Regions from separate parts of the Homo sapiens genome. Here region 1 is linked to region 2. The links are contacts of gene promoters, found by promoter capture Hi-C in blood cells and fetal thymus (Javierre and others, 2016). All regions are on one chromosome and are shown on one strand. Each heading gives the region's core, a stretch centred on a gene start or on the middle of the fragment in contact. The rest is flanking DNA. Distances are from core to core; before and after follow the strand shown. Region 1 overlaps KIAA2012. Region 2 holds the start of FLACC1 (flagellum associated containing coiled-coil domains 1).

Region 1 (3,902 bases), core at 798-3,297, 820 kb after region 2:
CAAATTTTAGGCTCATATCATTTTATTCATATATACTTGAGAACATATCTCTCAAAGATGAGAAATGACTTTTTTTATTATTATTATACTTTAAGTTTTAGGGTACATGTGCACAATGTGCAGGTTAGTTACATATGTATACATGTGCCATGCTGGTGCGCTGCACCGAGAAATGACTTTTAACATAATCATGATACCATTATTACACCCAAAATTTAAATAATTCTTTAATATAATTGAATATTCAGTCAGTTTTCAAAGTTCAAATTGTCCCATAATTATTATAATTGTTTTGGAATTTGCAAACCAACTGTTTACAATTGGTTGATATGACCTTTAAATCTCATTGAATTTATAAGTTCCCTTCCATTTCTTTTTTTTCCCCCTTTTAGTGTATTTGTAGGAAATTGGGTCACTTGTCTTGTTGAGTTTCAATCTAGACTTTGCTGATTGCGTCCTCATAGTGTAGTTTAACATGTTTCTCTGTCTTCCACATGTCCTGTAAGTTAACACTTGGGTCTAGAAACTTGATCAGATTCCGGTTTGGTTTGGTTTTTCCTTTTGGCAGTCTATAAATTCAGTGCAATTTCAATTTTAAAAATCCCCAACAGGGTTTTTGGCAGAACATGATTAGCTGATATTAAAATTCATATAGAAAAGCCAGAAATAGTTGTCATGGTCTGAATGTTTGTGTCCCCCAAAAATTCACATGCTGAAACCTCATCACCAATGTAAAGGTATTTGGAGGTTGGGCCTCTGGGAGGTGATTAAGTCATGAGGGCAGAGCCCTCATAAATGAGATTAGTGCCTTTACAAAAGAGGCCCCAGAGAGCTATCTTGCCCCTTTTATCATGTGAGGACACAAAAGAAGGTGCCCTCCATGAACCAGAAAGTGAGACTTCCCCAGACACTGAATGTCCCCAGACACTGAATGTTCCAGCACCTTGATCTTGAACTTTCCAGCCTCTAGACCCACAAGAAATAAATTTCTGTTGTTTCTAAGCTACCCAGTTTATGGTATTTTGTTATAGCAGCCTGAACAGACTAAGATATTAGCCAGTATAATTTTGAAAAAAAATAAAGTGGAAGTTTGCCCTGACAAATATAAAAACTTATTTTAAAGCTGTAAAAAATAAAACTGTGTGCTATTGGCTTAGAGACAGACAGAAGAGAATAGAGAATCCAGAAATAAATGTGCCCACATATGGAAACTTGATATATGGCAATGGCATTATAAAGGGAAATAGTGGAGAAAGGATGATCTATTATTCACTATATAATTTTGAGACAACTGGTTATGCAATTTTAAAATTCTCACCTCACAAAATATCAGGTGTATTCAGGAGCTTAATGTCAAAAAGCAAAATTTAACTTTTAGAGGAAAATATAGCAGAATATTTTTATGAATTTTGGAAAGGAAAAAACTTTTTACCTATTATTCATAACACAAACCATAAAGAAAATTATTGATAAATCTTTTTTTTTTTTTTGGGACGGAGTCTCGCTCTATTGCCCAGAAAGTGCAATGGCATGATCTTGGCTCACTGCAACCTCTGTCCCCTGGGTTCAAGCGATTCTGCTGCCTCAGCCTTCCAAGTAGCTGGGATTACAGGTGTGTGCCACCAGGCCCGGCTAATTTTTGTATTTTTAGTAGAGACAGGGTTTCACCATGTTGGCCAGGCTGGTCTCAAATTCCTGAACTCAAGTGATCAGCCTGCCTTGGCCTCCCAAAGTGCTGGGATTACAGGTGTGAGCCACTGTGCCCCGCCAATGAATCTGACTATATTAAAGTTTGAAGTTTTCAACAAGACAACATGAAGTTAAAAGCCAAATTGCAGATTAGAAGGAGATACCTGCAATGCATGTAACCAACAAAGCATTAGTAACCAAAATGCAGCAGCATTTCTTCCCTCTACAAATAGGGAAAGAAAAAGACAATCAACCCAAAGGAAAAATGAGCAAATGATGTGAACAGGCAACTAACAGAAGAAGAAACACAAATAAATGGCCATAGAGAAAAAAAAGTTCTCCTTACTAATCAGGAAAATCCCAGTTAAAACAAAAAGATATCATTTCATATATATCAGACCAGCAAAAGTTTAAAAGTCTATAAACACTATTAATGAGGATATAAAGTTTTAGTAATTTAGAGCAATTTGAAAATATTCAATAAATTGAAGATGCATATATCCTGCATCCCAACAAGTTCATTCCCAGGTATCCTTTAGAGAAAGCATGTATGAACAGTGACTCACCTAAAAAGGTTCATTGAAACATTATTAATAATCATAAACAATTGGAAATAATCAAAATGGCCACCAATAGTAAAATGGATTTTTAAATGGTCACATATTTATACAACGGAATACTATATGATAGCTGAAAATAAAATTACATGTATTAATATGGGTTAATCCCAAAAGACTTATTAAGGGTTTTTTGCCTTATTAAGCAAAATAAGGCAAGTTGAACAAGTTACATAAATAATATCATTTATGTAAAGTTTTAATTTGTAAAAAATACTATATATTGTTTACATGTGCATGTATATGTAATACAGATATAAAAATATATATGAGGATTGATGAATATCAAATTGAAGAGACTGATTACCTCTGGGAGGGAGAGGGAAATGGGATTATATGTGTCTTAATCCATTTTGTGATGCTATAACAGAATGCCTGAGATTGGGTAATTTATGAAGAACAGAACAGTCTCCCACAGTTCTGGAGGCTGAGAAGCCCAAGATCAAGATGCAGGTTTCTTACTGTGTCCTCACGTGGTGGGAGGCAAAAAGGCAAAAGAGAGGGAACTCATTCCCACAAGCCCTTTTTCTTTTTTTAGAGATGGGGTCTCTCTATGTTGCCCAGGCTCAACCTGAATTCCTGGACTCACACTATCCACAGCCTCAGTGTCCCGAGTAGCTGAGACTACAGGTGTGCATCACTGTGCCCAGCCCACAAACCCTTTTTATAGCAGCATTAATCCATTCATGAGGATGGAGCCCTCCATGACCTAAACACTTTTTATTAAGCCCCACCTCCCAACACTGCTGCATTGAATATTGATTGAGTTTCCAACACACAAATTTTGAAGGAGACGATAACATTCACACCATAGTAGCATGTGATAAATGAAGTCTTGGACTGTGTCTTAAATGTTTGATTTCTTTAGAAAATGCATGACTTAGGCTGGGCACAGTGGCTCATGCCTGTAATCCCAGCACTTTGGGAGGCCAAGGCAGGCAGATCACTTGAGTTCAGGAATTTGAGACCAGCCTGGCCAACATGGTGAAACCCTGTCTGTAGTAAAAATACAAAAATAAGCTGAGCATGGTGGCGTACACCTGTAATCCCAGCTACTTGGGAGGCTGAGGCAGGAGAATTGCTTGAACCTAGGAGGTGGAGGTTGCAGTGAGCTGAGATGGTGCCATTGCACTCCATCCTGGGCAACAGAGTGAGACTCTGTCTCAGAAAAAGAAAGAAAGAAAGAAAGAAATGCATGACTCAAATATGGCAAAATGTTAAAATTTTACAAAACTAAGTGGCAATGAGTATACAGTATTTTTCCTATACTGTGAACGCTTAAGATATTTTATAGACTTTTAAAAAGTACTTAAAAGTTGTAAGTTATTCAAAGCACTGACTTCGTTTGTTCCAATACTTCCTAAATATCAGGTTATTTTACTAAGAGAAAAAAAAAATCACCCTTCTATGGCCCACATCCCAAAACTGGGAAGGTTTCAATTCTAATCACAATGGAAGTTTCACCAATGTACAACCTCAGCTTTTGGTCAATACAAATACGCCCTCTGCTGGTTCTATCATGCCCTGTCCCAGAGTTCAAAATAGTTGAGAAGAGCAGTGAAAGTCTTCAGTGAGAGTTTTTTCGCGCCAGTCATG
Region 2 (3,929 bases), core at 567-3,066:
TGTCTTGGTATATATTCTTTTGCTCTTAAGAAAAAAAAAAAAGAAGGCCTCACAGGTGTGGTGGCACATGTCTGTAATCCCAACACTTTGAGAGACTGAGGTGGGAGAGTCGCTTGAGGCTAGGAGTTTGAGACCAGCCTGGGAAACATATCGAGACTCTGTATCTACAAAAAATTTTAAAAATAGCCTAGTATGGTGGAGTGTGCCTGTAGTCCCAGCCACTTGGCAGGTGGTGCGGGAGGATCACTTGAGGCCAGGAGTTTGAAGTTGCAGTGAGCTAGGACCACACCACTGCATTTCAGCCTGGGTGACAGCACAAGACCCTGTCTCTAAAAAATAAATAAATAAATAAAATAAAAATAAAGGCCTTTTTCTTTGAACACCCATGGGAGTGATACTCAAAATATTTAACAACCAGTAAGACAAGGCTATTGAATAATCAACCAGGGTTGGAACAGGGTCCTGGGAGATCTCACTCCCACCTCCATGCCAGGCATTAACCCCTTAGTTGCTGAATCATGAGGTGGTCTGGGGGTGCCAGGGGAGGAGTTGGGACAACCAAGGTGGCAAGGAGGACATGCAAGGGGCTTGGACAATGGTCATCTACCAATCAATATGACAGTATTTTATTTATTATTATTATTGTTTTGAGACGGAGTTTTGCTCTTGTTGCCTAGGCTGGAGTGCAATGGTGTGGTCTTGGCTCACTGCAACCTCTACCTCCGAGGTTCAAGCGATTCTCCTGCCTCAGCTTCCCCAGTAGCTGGAATTACAGGCACCCGCCACCATGCCTGGCTAATTTTTGTATTTTTATAACGATGGGGTTTCACCATATTGGCCAGGCTGGTCTCAAACTCCTGACTTCAGGTGATCCACCCATCTCAGCCTCCCAAAGTGCTGGGATTACAGGTGTGAGCTACCGTGCCCTGCCTATATGGCAGTATTTTAATATTTCAGTAGCTAAAATCAGCCCTTGACTTCTCATAGCTTCTTAAGTGGGAACTACTTCTAACAGATTTTTGGGGCATCCTTCCAGAAATGTTGTGAGTGCATATAACCTTAAATGTTTTGCATATAGAACTTAACCTGTAGAGAAGCATAATAGATTTTTTAAATTATTTGCATAAGTGAGAGCATACTTTGCACACAATGTTGCATCTTGTTCTTTTTGTGTAACAGGATATCTAGTTGATATTTCCATGTCATCACAGATAGATCTGCATTTACAGTGGCTTGACATCATATAGCTCTAATTATAGAGGGGTGTGTGAGTGTGTGTAAGGATTTTTTCTCCCCCTTTTTTCCCTTTCCTGCACTTCTACCTGATGATTTTACCTGAGGCTTGCCCTAACAATAGTCACCAGTGAGCCGGCAGAGGCTTCAGAGAAGTTACTGGTTAGTATTAATAATCAGTAGAAAAAATAATATAAAACATCTTTTCCAAAGAGCTTACCTTGGACTGCCCAAAGATCTGTTATTCTCATGTGGCCCAAGTCAAACATCTTAAAGAAACCACCATGTTAGAGAGAAATGGTTCCCCATCAACACAGAATCAGAGTTTACTTTAGATCAAAAGCCACTTTAGTGGCCATTCCAAGTGGTTGAAATGCCGAAGGAGAAAATTCACAGTATATGTACTGCGGGAAGACAGACTTCTAGTGAATCCAATCAAAGGCTTTTACAAAGGCTGGCCTGGCACAAACATGAATTTCCCTTCTAAAGACAAAACAGTTGAAGTTTCTCAGTATTGCAATGAAATTAAACTAGAGGAGAAGGTCACCCCACCATTCAGATTCCTGTGACTTGGGCCTGAGTTGTGAGGTTTGCCCTTGGGAGATGGCAGGCCAAAGTTTGTTTATTTTGTTGCTATGGACACAGAACAGTAGCTCCTCATTGGCTCAGGGCTCTTTTCTTCAAGAGAGAAGGTTGGGAGAAACAGCCAATTAAATTCTCCAAGACACAAATCAGTGACCACCCTCAACAGCAAAGAATTCATACTTTTAACACTGGATTTCCACTTTCGTCATCAGTCATGGGACAAAAAAGTTTAAGATATATCTTCAGAGGAAATAGAATTCAACAGCACTTTTAGGCTTCATTGGTCTATGGCAATAGTTACCAGGCAGGATCTGTGATGGATTTTTAATTCCTCTGTGATCTACTCACAGAAACCTAAAACTCTAGACACTTTTTTCCCTCGAGTTTAAGGCTTTGAAATCTGTGAAAGTAAAAATCCCCCAAGGCAGGAATCTTTTGCAGTCACAAGGTTTTCCGATTTTTTTTTTTAAATAAAGCTGCTTTTTCTTACTATAGAAAAAAGTACTTGCTTATTACAACCCAGTGGCTTTCATTTTAGTTTTACTGCCACTCATTATAAGAAATACATTTTACAAATTTTGTAATAAAAAAATTTCATGAAATAATACTCTTATTATTTGCTATTCTCTTCTATTTCTTTTTCTTCTTTAAATTAAAGCTGATTATAATCCACTAGATTGATTTCATGATCCTGGTGGGTCACAACCCCTAGCTTACAAAATATTGTTATAAATTCATCTATTCACTCAACTTCACATTTGTTGTCTACTGTGTGCCAGGCACTATTGCTAGGTGTGGGGATATACCTCAGTTCTTATACTCAATACAACTTAGAGACCAATGAGAAAACAGACAATAAAAAAGCTCAATAAAAGCATAATTAATTTTTTTTTCCTTTGAGACAGTAGCTCACTCTGTTACCCAGGCTGCGGTGCAGTGGCAGTGGCAGTGCAGGCTGCATGCATAGCTCACTGCAGCCTTGACCTCCTGGACTCAAGCGATCCTTCTGCCTCAGACTCCCAAGTAGATGGGACTACACAGGTGCACAGCACCATGCCCAGCTAATTTTTTTTTTTTTTTTTTTTTTTGAGACGGAGTCTCGCTCTGTCACCCAGGCTGGAGTGCAGTGGCGGGATCTCGGCTCACTGCAAGCTCCGCCTCCCGGGTTCACGCCATTCTCCTGCCTCAGCCTCCCAAGTAGCTGGGACTACAGGCGCCCGCCACTACGCCCGGCTAATTTTTTTGTATTTTTAGTAGAGACGGGGTTTCACCGTTTTAGCCGGGATGGTCTCGATCTCCTGACCTCGTGATCCGCCCGCCTCGGCCTCCCAAAGTGCTGGGATTACAGGCGTGAGCCACTGCGCCCGGCCGCCCAGCTAATTTTTTTGACTTTTAGTATACATGAGGCCTTGCTATGTTGTCCAGGCTGGTCTTGTACTCCTGAATTCAAGTGATCCTCCTGCTTCGGCCTCCCAAAGTGCTGGGATTACAGGTGTAAGTCACCATGCAGCCACAATGACTCATATTGAGACTTGCCAGAAGCAGTGGGAGTTCATAGCAGGAGTTACTCTTCTAGTCCAGTGAGTCAGGCAGCAGTGTTAAACAGAGAAGAGATCTGACTAGATCTACATATCAGAAAGATCATTCTGACTGCAATATAGGGAAGCAATTGGAAGGGCCAGGAAAACCAGGTAAAAGTCTGTGGCAGTGGTCGTCATGGGACCTGACGATGGCCCTGACTGAGGAGCAGCAGTGGGGATGGAGAGAAGACATGATAGAACTTGGTGATTGACTGGATGCTGGGATGAGCGAAAAGGAGAAGGTGATGATTCCTGGCTTTCCAGCTCGAGCAATTGAGTTGACCGTGGTGCCATTTATTGAGATAGGAAAGTGTGGAGGGATAAACAGGTTCTAGGGAGCAGATTATTAGTTCAGTTTTGGATATGTTGAGGTGCAGGGAGACTAATAGACAAGTGGTGACGTCTGTTAGAGTTTCTTACATATTTTAGAAGTTCAGAGGAAGATTCTGGCCTAGAAGCAGATTTAGGAGTCTTCAGAGTGGATACTATTCCAAGCCAAGGGAGCGAGTGAGATCACATATAGAGAGAGTA

What was found. The method cuts DNA at HindIII sites, captures the fragments that hold promoters and counts their contacts. A CHiCAGO score of 5 or more calls a contact.
Region 1: a contact is called between a fragment that was not itself captured here and the fragment with the promoter of FLACC1 in region 2, in 1 of 17 cell types (naive CD8 T cells). The highest score is 5.1, in naive CD8 T cells.

Annotation. Positions count from the first base shown.
Region 1 is chr2:202,174,728-202,178,629 of GRCh38, forward strand. All of the region lies in intron 15 of KIAA2012, which reads left to right. Among named protein-coding and RNA genes, the nearest start is that of KIAA2012-AS1, 60 kb to the left of the region's middle. The HindIII fragment of the contact is 6,218 bases long and covers 1-3,902 here.
Region 2 is chr2:201,355,529-201,359,457 of GRCh38, forward strand. FLACC1 (flagellum associated containing coiled-coil domains 1) reads right to left here and starts at 1,817. Exons shown (of 15, transcript NM_001127391.3): 1 at 1,454-1,817. The HindIII fragment of the contact is 10,294 bases long and covers 1-3,929 here.